Regions from separate parts of the Homo sapiens genome. Here region 1 is linked to region 2. Evidence: promoter capture Hi-C in human tissues and cell types (Jung and others, 2019). All regions are on one chromosome and are shown on one strand. The core of a region is centred on a gene start or on the middle of the fragment in contact, and the rest is flanking DNA. Distances in the headings are between cores, read along the strand shown. Region 1 overlaps SEPTIN8 (septin 8). Region 2 holds the start of SHROOM1 (shroom family member 1).

The links. The method cuts DNA at HindIII sites, captures the fragments that hold promoters and counts their contacts. A contact is called where the count stands out against the background at its distance.
Region 1: a contact is called between a fragment that was not itself captured here and the fragment with the promoter of SHROOM1 in region 2, in 2 of the 25 tissues and cell types used here (dorsolateral prefrontal cortex and hippocampus).

Annotation. Positions count from the first base shown.
Region 1 is chr5:132,766,861-132,772,285 of GRCh38, forward strand. The region is part of intron 1 of SEPTIN8 (septin 8); the gene reads right to left. Among named protein-coding and RNA genes, the nearest start is that of SEPTIN8, 7.7 kb to the right of the region's middle. The HindIII fragment of the contact is 3,532 bases long and covers 2,370-5,425 here.
Region 2 is chr5:132,829,024-132,834,619 of GRCh38, forward strand. SHROOM1 (shroom family member 1) reads right to left here and starts at 1,624. Exons shown (of 10, transcript NM_001172700.2): 1 at 1,571-1,624. RefSeq lists silencers at 993-1,302, 1,513-1,932. The HindIII fragment of the contact is 17,651 bases long and covers 1-5,596 here.

The DNA.
Region 1 (5,425 bases), core at 2,886-5,385, 60 kb before region 2:
CCTGAACCCCTCTGGCCATCCTTCCCTCCCAACCAGAGAACCTTGGCACTCAAACCCAACCTTCTGCACAACTGATGTCTACCTCCCCACAGCAGCCTTGCATCAACGACTCCCAAGTGTGGGTGCTGGCAACCTAGACCCCACATGGCCCCTCTGGGCAGTTGTACCATCCCCTCAAACAAGTCAGGGCTACCCCTAAACCTGCTTTCTCCCATGACTCTCTCTCAACGGAGCCTCTTTTCTTATAGCTGACCCTTTCTCCCCATCACCTAGCCCCAAAGCATCATGTCCCAATCTCCCCACTCAAGCCCAGATCTCCTTAGGGCTGCAAACATAATTGGACAAGGAGGTCCCAAAGGCAGTTTCCTCTCATTGGTGCCCACATAAAAGTAGTTAATGAAGCCTAGGAGGTGCTGGGTCAGGTCCAAAGCCCTTAGCATGGTGTTCCAGGCCTTCCTCACTGGCCTGGTTCCAGCCCAGCTGGTAACTCTGAGCTCTCTTTTCAAACTCTGCCCCTCCCCTCGGCTCTACAGCTACTCTACTTTTCCCTTGGCACCCACTCTCACCTGGCCCCCAAGCACTTACGTTCCAGACCCCTCACTTGGCAGTTATCCTGTTTCCTAGTACTACTGGTTATCCTTTTTTAATGCATCTTGATTCTCCACCTATTCTATAAGCTTCTAGATGTCGGCTGCAGGTTGGGGAGGTCAGGTTTTCTGTTCTTCCTTCCCTCCCATTACTATGCCCAACATGCTGGACAATGCTACCATTTATAAGTTACTGAACACAGCCTCCAACTGCTACGGCATCAGAGCACCTGCCCACCTTACACAGGGCTTCATTATTTAGTCTCTGTTCCACCTCCTTGTGTCGGCTTGAGGATCAAATGGAGGACACAGTCGGTCTAGAGCTTTTTTCTTTTCAGGCAAGACTGAAAATCTCCAAAATTTAAGGCGTGCTGTGCTTGCAGAGAAGGCTATGTGTTTATTCATCCTCTTCTTCCAAGGGGTGACACAATCAGGATGCAATCCAACATCCTGTAGTCTGCCGCCAAACCCCACCAAGTCAGCTGTGTCTGGAAACCACACACACACACACACACACACACACACACACACACACACACGCAGCCGCAGAGCACTTACTGAGAAGCAGAGGCCATTCCATTCCTGTTTTCCCCCACTTTCTTACAGTTCTAGGCCCCAGAGGCTAAGTGTAGCACTGGGGGTTCTTGGGGTGGGTCTCACATAAACCACCTATCCACACACAGCAACTGCAGAGTGGCCTCCTCTCACACAGCTTGGCTCTCTCTGTGGAAGTGTGGGGTACAGGGAGGTCATCATCCCTAAGTTGTTACCCAGGCTACACTCTGTTATCGCAGGGGCCACACATCTGGGGCAATACCTGTTTAGGAGCCCCGGGGACCAGTCAGGGGTATGAGTCTATGGAGCATGCATGCACACACACACGTACACACACAGAATGGCCACTGGCCCTGATGGAGGCAGTGTTGTTACCTGGTCCCAGGAGACTGATCTGACCTCCAGGCTTTACCGAGGGGTAACTCTCACTAATGCCAACTCCCTGATCATAGATTTGGCATCGACATGTGATCTAAGTTGCATTGCTCACTCCAGGGTGCCTGCTCCAGGCATCTCTACCAACCTGAGTGGGGTTACAACCTAGGAGGAACCAGCAGCCCCTGAAGGACCTCCTGCACATCTCAGCTACCATGACTCAGAAATAAAGTCAGGTGACCCAGTGGCTACCAGCCCTGCAATTTGGTGGGTGAGACCACAGCTCCAACTCCCAGGGTGGGAGCCCATCAGCGTGATGCCATGATCGGTGCAAGTACAGGCAAGTGACGCAGGTTGAGCCTTTATGACCATCTTGAGACCATTAGGGGAGCTAGCCTAAGGCTGCAGTCTACTCACAGGATGGCAGAGCCAAGAAAATCACAGAGAAAAGAGGGAGCCAGAGTCTGCCCTATCTCTGGGCTTTTCCCCTTCCCCCTGGCCATATCCTCTTTATTGCTGAGGCTAGTTGAGTGGTATTATCTATTACTTGCAACTGAAACATCTTCGGTGCCATAGGATCCAAAGTAAAACTCTTTGGATGCAGAGGAACAGGGAGAAAGCGAGGAGAGCCAGGAAAGGAGGGACAGTGTGGAAGGTAAAACATCTCAGTATTCACAACCAAAGGAAGGAAGGGACGTCTGGGATGATACCAACACCTCACTGAGGACCACCATGTGTGAACTAAGCCAAGTGATTTACACCCAGGCTCTCACTTGGTCCTTCCTCACTGTGGATGACAGACTCCATGATTATCCCCATTTTACAGGGGAGGAAACTGAAGCACACAGAAGCTAGGGAACTAACCAGGGCAGAGCAGGGACCTGAGAACAGACCAAGCTCTTGTCCCAAACCACTCTGCTACATTGCCTCCCCTGTTCTTAGCAGGCTTCCAACTCATTCATTCAGTCACTCAACACACACGCACTGGACATGTCTGCTGTGTGCCAGGAACTGAGATGGCTGCCAGTGAAAAGATGAGGACATCAGATCCTTGACCTCAGAGGGCTAAGCCTAAACTCAAATGCCTTTAGAAGCCAGGCAGGTAACATATATAGGTGAAGGGGAGCAGCACCTTAATAACAATGGCAACAACAACAGACATAACTAACATGTATTGCATGCTTGCTTTGCGCAACCCTAATTTAATCTAATTTAGTCCACACATCAGCCCTATGACATAGGCCGTAGCAGCCTCCCCATTGTCTAGATGAGACAATAGAGGCATCAAGAGAGTGTGTAATTTGCCCAAGACCACACTGCTCAGGAGAGCAAAGCCAGGATCTGAATGGAGACAACATGACTGTGAAACCCACACTTCTAGTCACATCACTCCCCGCCTGCTGGATGAAAGACAGCCACTAACTTGGCCAAGCGTGGGGGTTCCCGGGGAGAGGTGGGAATGGCAGAGAACTGGAGAGCCTGTGCTTATGCTCAATCCATGGTGGCCACAGTTCCACAACGCCAGCCAACTGTGGGAACACAGATCTAGTGTTGCCAAATCTTCCCGTTTTTAAAGAGAACCCAAAAATCTCTCTCTATATATACATATATATATATATATATATATATATATATATATATATATACACACACATATATATATATGTGTGTGTGTGTGTGTGTGTGTATATATATATATATATGTATATATGTATATATATATGTATATATGTATATATATATATATGTATATATGTGTATGTGTGTGTATATATATATATATATATATGTATATATGTATATATATGTATGTATGTATTTTTTGAGACACAGTCTGGCTCTGTCACCCAGGCTGGAGTGGTGTGATCTCAGCTCACTGTAACCTCCGCCTCCTAGGTACAAGCAATTCTCATGCCTCAGACTCCCCAGTAGCTGGGATTACAGGCACGCAACCACCACGCCTGGCTGATTTTTGTATTTTTAGTAGAGACGGGGTTTCACTATGTTGGCCAGGTCGGTCTTGAACTCCTGACCTCAGGTGATCCACCTGCGTTGGCCTCCCAAAGTGCTGGGATTACAGGTGTGAGCCACCATGCCTGGCCCAGAAATCTATATTTTTATGTGAAATTCTGTAATTTTTAAAGATTGACAACCAATACAAACTGAGAATACCATGAGGGCCCAATACAACATGTCAGGGGGCTGGTGTGGGCCAAAGGCCTGCTGGTCTGTAAGCTGGCTCTGGTGGGAGGGTGAGCTGGACGGACCCTGCAGCCAGGCTCCATTCTCAAGTCAGGAAGCCCCATGGCAGACTGCTCTGTGGGGAGGAGCCTTCAGGCAGGACAACTTAACTTGGACCCCAGAGAGAGGTGGACCCAAAGCCTCTGGCTCATTCCACACACCCAGCTCCCTGAGGTGCTCACACAGGGGTGAGCGTTGTATATGTCTTCAAAGTCCCAGGATAGAGGGAGTTGGCAGCTCTGAGCTCTACATATGCAATGAGAAACTCCATGGGGCCATTATCCCCTCTCTAATCACTAACAAGCTTTTGGCTCCTGAGCCAGGCCCCAGGCTTCTGTGTCATCATTTCTTTGGCACATCAAAGACAACAACCAAAACAATAACTTCTCAGGCCGGCTGCGTGCCTCCATGCCCGGCCGTCCAAGACAAAGTAGAGAACAGCATTTTGTTACGCAGCCCAGTGGATAACTAGGACGCCCTTTTCCTGATAGGAAATGCTCTGTCTGAGCCTCCTAGAGCAGCCCTCATCACCAGCCAAGAGGAGCTGTCCCTTTTACCATGAAACAAGGTGGGATCTGGGAAGAAACTGCATCTCATGGTTGCCAACACACAAAAACAGGTTTTTATCCAGAAGGAACTGGAAATCTACTGAATCTCTAAACCAACAGAGCCGGGGAAGCTGTGGGTAAATAAAGACCCCTGTGATCCAAACCCCCAAACTAGGCTGGTTGTTGCAGTGGGAGTAGAAAGGATACCCCACCATAGGTGGATTGGCTACCGAGTAATGGACAAAGAGCAGCCCCCAGACCTCAGGCCTTCCAGAGTTCTCCAGTGCCTTGGACTTTGGATGCTTTTCTTCCTCTGGGCTCCCATGCCTAGCACCCACTCACCTGTACACCCAGTCAGGCAGACAGGAAGCCCACTCCCCAGGGGAGCTCCAGCCCTGGGGGTGGCCCTATTAAGTAACTGAGCAATGGACTCAGGAGTCAATGGACCACTGGAAGCTTTCTCCACCCATGTTCCTGGCACAAACTATGCTAGCCCCGGCTCCAGCTCCTCCCAGGAGCCTGGGCCTTAAATAGCCAGAGCAGAGGCCTCTAGCCAGAACCCGTGGTCGCGGTCATAAGCACAACTGTCCTTGAGCCTGAGAGGAATCCTAGGAATTTTCCCAGGAAAGGCTTCGGCTCTGGTCCCAGGATTCCACAGCAAGCCTCTAAGCCCAGGTCAGAGGTTACGGGAAATAACCAAGGAGACATACGTGGGAGGGTGGGGGTGGGATGCTGCTACCCGGGGCCAGGAAGGAAGAATAGAGGCAGGATATACCTGTCCCAAATCAAGAGGACACCTGGGAGCCAAAGCATCTTTCTCCTACAGTGGCAACAGAAAACTTGAGAGAAGATTCAAGCAAGGATCACCCGCCATGGTCCCAACATGACGGCAGTCAAGGTAACAGGAAGCCAATCATCCTCACAAGGCCAGTCCTACTCCACCCATCCTGGGAAGAGAAGGAATTTTGGGAGCAAAACCATCCCCTGACCCCAATACTCCATTCTCTCTGTTTCTCTGTCTCACTAAGAGGCACTGTCTTTCCTTTCTGCACACAGCCAGCCAGGCTGGAGCTTATTAATTTGGGATAGTGTGTTTCAAGCTTTTCCCATCAAAATCAG
Region 2 (5,596 bases), core at 374-2,873:
TACCTGTGGGCTGGGCTGTTATGCCTGTGCCGGCTGCTGAAAGGGAGTTCAGAGGTGGAGCTCAAGGAGCTCTGCAGGCATTTTGCCAAGCCTCTCCAGAGCAGAGGGAGCAACCTAGACTCCCCGCTAGAAAGACACCAGATTGGAGTCCTGGGAGGGGGAGTTGGGGTGGGCATTTGATGTATACTTGTCACCTGAATGAAGGAGCCAGAGAGGAAGGAGACGAAGATGAGATTGGCCTTCAAAGCTAGGGGTCTGGCAGGTGGAGGCACCAGTCTGAAAGGAGGAGCTGGGGCTGAGGAATTGTCAAGGGGGCCAGTGCTCCTTCAGTCTGGGCTTCATGGTGTCTGTGACAAGTCAGGCAGCAGTTGGGATGTGGCTCTGGAGTTCAGCAGGGGAGGGTAGACCAGGCAAGACCCAGGTTTTTAGTTAGAGGTTACTGGGGAAATAGCTGAAGACAGTTTCCGGTGGATAAAATCACACCAAGGCAATGGGAACAGATCCAAGTAAGGCGACCGAGGAGGCACAGGAGAACGGACAGCCTCAAATACAACGAATGATCAGGATTTACATCATACCTCCCTCAAGGCCACCTCACATCTGACCTCTCTGTGGAGGGGCTATCCAGGCCGCCCCTCCCAGCGGGTCTTCCCTCAGTACTGGGCTCACTGTGTAGGCGCTGTCTCCCTGTCAGACTGAGTTCCTGGGTACTGGACCACGTCTCAAAACCCAGTACCCGCAGCTGGGTCTGGCTAGGCGGACGTTCTGGGAAGTTCACCGGCTCTCCCTGTCCCCAGCGTCCCCCGTTCTCCCAGCCTGTCCGCGCTGACAGCGCACCCCACGCAGCATCCACGCTCCGAGTGTGCGACTGGTTTACGGGCTCATCGGTCGCTGCACCCCAGATGCAGAGTCTCTGGAGACCCGAGCTCCGTGCCATGCACAGGAAATGCAGGAAGCTGGCGACACCCGGGGAGAGGCGGCCGCGGGCGTGGACAGACCCGGTTACCTGGGGTTCAATCTCTGGGAGCCGAGGCACGGGAGGGAGAGAGGCGCAGGCCCCGGCGGCCGCAGGGGGCGGCAGAGACACGCGGAGCGGCTCGACAGCAGATGGCCGCAGCCCCGCGCAGTTCTGGGCCTTTCCCGTTGGGTTCACCGTCGGGGAAGGATCGCGCGCAGGGGACAGCGCGAGCCCGGGAGGGAAGGACCCGGCTTCTCCAGATGCTTGGCGACAAAGGGCAGGAGCGGAGGGTGGCGGAGTGAGACCGCGCTGCCCGCCGGCGCCACACGCGGCGCGCCCAGCCGCGCCCCTGAGCCGCGCCGCCAGCTTAGAGTGGGCCGCCTCTCCGCCCTGCAGCTCTGCAGCTGGGAGAGGCGCGCTGGGGTCCGACTCCACTGGCGCAACCTGACGCGGCGCCGAGCCAGACACGTCCCGGCCGAACGATGCCCGGGCTGCCCCGCGACCACCGCCTCGCCGCCCGCTCTTCACCCCCGTCCGCCCGCAGCCCCGCCGGCCTCCCGGGGGAAGCGGACCCAGCCGCCCGCTTCCCGCTCCCCCGCCCCCGCCGCGTACCTGAGGCTCCCGCCGAGACGCGCTCCTGGGCCGTCGCAGCCGCGCGGTGACATCAGAGCCCCGGGCTCTGACTCCGACCCCACCTCCAGGCTCCGGCCGCGGCCTCAGGGGAGGCGCCACGTCCGGCCGCGGGGGCGGGAGCCGCAGCCTCTTGGTAGCGTCCGCGCGCCGGCCCAGTCCCAGGTCTGAGGGTGGACAGTGCGTTCCCGCGCGGGCCACAGGCCTCTTGCCCCAGGCCGGAGAAACCTGAGCGAGGTGGTGGGAGGGCGACTACGGCGACCGCCCACCGGCCTCCAGCGCGTCCGTGATGCTCGGGGGCCGGGTCCCTCGGGGCCTGACACCTCCCTCGGTGGGGAGGTCCAGGGCGGGCCCTTAGGCGCCTGACGGCTACCCGCTTTCCCCCCCAAGCCCGGCCAAGAAAACAGAGCTGCCAGGGCCTCGTGCCTCCCACCTGTCCCGCTGAGTAACTCGGCCCTTGATCAACTCTACCCCCAGACCCCCATTTCCAAAACTCTTCCAGCTCTTTGACTCCCACCATGGGCTCTTGTCTCCTGTTCCCTGTCCCATTTCTTTCCATTTCTCCCACTACCCAGCATGGTCTGGGCCCTCCAGCCTGCTACCGGGGTGGGGGAGAGGGGGGCGGAGCACGGGGAAGCCCCTGGACTTGTGTGCACCTTAGCTGTCCTGAGTGTGTCCTTAGGGAGCTGGACATATGCATACCCACTAAGGCTGGACACTGGCGCTCGAGGCCCTCACCTTCCAGGATCTCCATTTTCCAAAGAACGCTCTGCCTGCACCTGCCACTGAGCTCTCCTTGCTGTGTCCTCAGGCTCCCCTGCCCCGACTTCCCAAACTCTGTCCTATGAATACCACTCTGCCAAGAAATGCTCCGTTCCTGAGAGGGGCTGGGGACCCTTTGATGAGCCTCTCCGGCTCTCAGGTCTCTGCCTTTGTCCTCCGCTGCCCTCCCGCTCCCACAGGATCAACAGGGCTGGGCTCAGGGGCTGTGTCCTCCCATGGTAGTATCCCTGGCAAATAAAGGTTTATTGGTGTTAATAACCAGGACTCTGAACTCTGGCCAAGAGTCAAGGTTGCCACTTCCTAGGGACACTGGGAGCCTGAGGAACTCTGTCTTCTTGGGTCTTCTTGGGTTCGGAGGCAGGAGACACCTGAGCCCGACTTCTGAGAGTGGTGCCCGCTGGGCCCTGCTCCTTCTTCAACACCATCTGGACTCAGGCACCAGCTTCAGCTGGAGCGCTAGGCTTTAAGACAGTGCCTAAGAACCTTTCGGCTTTGAAAGACTTTTGTTGTTTGTTTTGCTTTTTTGAGACAGAGTCTCCCTCTGTCGCCCAGGCTGGAGTGCAGTGGCCGGATCTCTGCTCACTGAAACCTGCGCCTCCCAGGTTCAAGCAATTTTCCCTGCCTCAGCCTCCCAAGTAGCTGGGATTACAGGCACCGGGCACCACGCCCAGCTAATTTTTGTATTTTTAGTAAAGACGGGGTTCGCCATGTTGGCCAGGCTGGTCTCAAACTCGTGACCTCAGGTGATCCACCCACCTTGGCCTCCCAAAGTGCTGGATTACAGGCATGAGCTACCGCACCCGGCCTGAAAGACTTTTAATATTTTTAAGACCCTGATCCACAGAGTCTCACAGCAGCATCAAAATAGAAGAAAGACAGCCCAGCAAACAACAACAAAAAATTTTTAATTGCTCATGTTGGCTGGGGCGGTGGCTCATGCCTGTAATCCCAGCACTTTGGGAGGCCAAGGTGGGCAGATTGCTTGAGCTCAGGAGTTCGAGACCAGCCTCGGCAACATGGCGAAGCCCTGTCTCTACAAAAATACAAAAAAAAATAGCTGGACGTGGTGGCACGCACCTGTAGTCCCAGCTACTTGGAAGGCCTAGGCACAAGAATCGCTTGAACCGAGGAGGCATAGGCTGCAGTCTGCCGAGATCACGCTACTTCATTCCAGCCTGGGCAACAGAGTGAGATTCTGTCTCAAAAAAAAAAAAAATGGTTATGTTTTTTACTTATATTTCTTGAAAACTATGGGGACACAGTGTCCAGAACAATTCTATTAACCCACTCCACCCACCTACCACTCACCTCTTGCACACACTACAGCACCTCTCTGCTAGGGACCATGAGGACGCAGTCCAGAGCGATTCTTATTAACCCACTCCACCCACCTACCACTCACCTCTTGCACACACTAAGCAACTCTCTGCTAGGGACCATGAGGATGCAGTCCAGAGCGATTCTTATTAACCCACTCCACCCACCTACCGCTCACCTCTTGCACACACTAAGCAACTCTCTGCCTAAGTCCCCAGAAAACTGAAATCCCACCTACCCACGTCTCTCTTAACCTCTTCTGTTCTGAGAAAGAGAAAAGTAACCCCTAACATCTGAAAGGCCCAGCTGGACCTTGGTGTTGCCAGAATTTGACCTGACATTCACAGCAAGGCCTTACTGTTGTCCCATTGGACATAAGCCATTTCACAGGGCATCAATGTGAGACAGGGCCGTTCTTTAACAATGATGGATCAAGACAAAAACAACAGCACTCTAATCATGTCTAACACATACAAAAGCATGAACATTGTCCAAGTCACAAAAATGACCTAGCTAATGAGTGCCTGCTGTCCTAGCTAATGTGAGTACCTGCTGCTTCTTTACCAATTGCAGCTTTAGCCTCACTCTAATCATTCCTCTTTCTAGATAAGATTTATTAATATACCCAATCATAGAATTACTCTTGCTTCTTGACAGCATCCAGCACAAAGGAAAGTTCTGCTTCTTTAACCCTCTTGAAAAGCACTAACCCAAACCCAGATCCTCTAAGTCCTTTCCAATGCTCTCTTCCTGAGATGCCACGTGGTTTCCCATGCTACGTGTCCTCTCTCACTTCAACAAGCAATGAACCCAACTTGTTCAACTACAGGTGTGCTCGTGGTGGTCTTTGGCTAGGGGGCACTGATACTTCCTATCTCATTATTACAAAAGCACAGAGAATCTTGGAGAAGAGAAGGGGGAAGAAACTGCCACAAAGCTGGAGTCTCCCTTAGTGATGGTGGTTGGGGGGTGAGTGTGCATGGAGAGGGTGGAAACATGCACATATGCTTCCAATACATAAAGAGAGGTGTCTGCACCCTTCAGTATCTCAATACTTTCTCAGGCCTGGGGGAGTTCTTTTGAAGAGACCCTTAGATGGCTGTGTTTAGCTGGGATTAGAGCCACAGACCTTGCTGTTCCTGGCCAGGCCCTATATCAAGGAGCTGATAGGTGGGGAGGTGGTGGGCCTCCACTCCACATAGTTTGGCACTTGTAATCTGAACTGATGACACCAAAGCAAAGCAACTGCCCACCTCACAAGTCCCTGTGGTTTCTTGCTTTGATGCCCACTCTCTTTGTTGGATATGGTTAATGTGATGTGACTATGAGTGGAATACTAAAGACCACTTCTTTAGTGCCAAGCACTGTGCTAAGTGCTCTATGTATCTTTTTAGCCCTCTTACTCCTCAGAAGTAGGTATCAGTATAACCCCATTTTACAAGTGAGAAAGCTGGGACTTAGAGACATTATTTTGTCAAGGTCAGGTAGCTAATAAGCAGTAGAGGCAATACTTAACCCCCTAATGTCTGGTTCCAAAGGCCATGCTGTCATGTAAACATGAGCAGTGTAAAGAACTGTATGTTGTGGATATCAATGCAGCCTTCCTAGGAGAGCAGGATTTGGACTTCAGATTGAGCAGAACTCGCAAGCGAGCGGGAAAGATGAGACAGTAGCAGCAGTGAGACTCCAAACAGGACTTCCCCATCTCTGTGTGTCCCCAACAGTCCAACACATATGAGGGCTTAGTTTCATATATGATTTCCAGGGGTTTATTGTAAAGGACTTATAAAAACATTTCTTTCTGTAAGTACTTTTTTTTTTTTCAATAGAGATGGAGCTAGGTGTAGTGGCTCACACCTGTAATCCAAGCACTTTGGGAAGCTGAGGTGGGAAGATCACTTGAGGCCA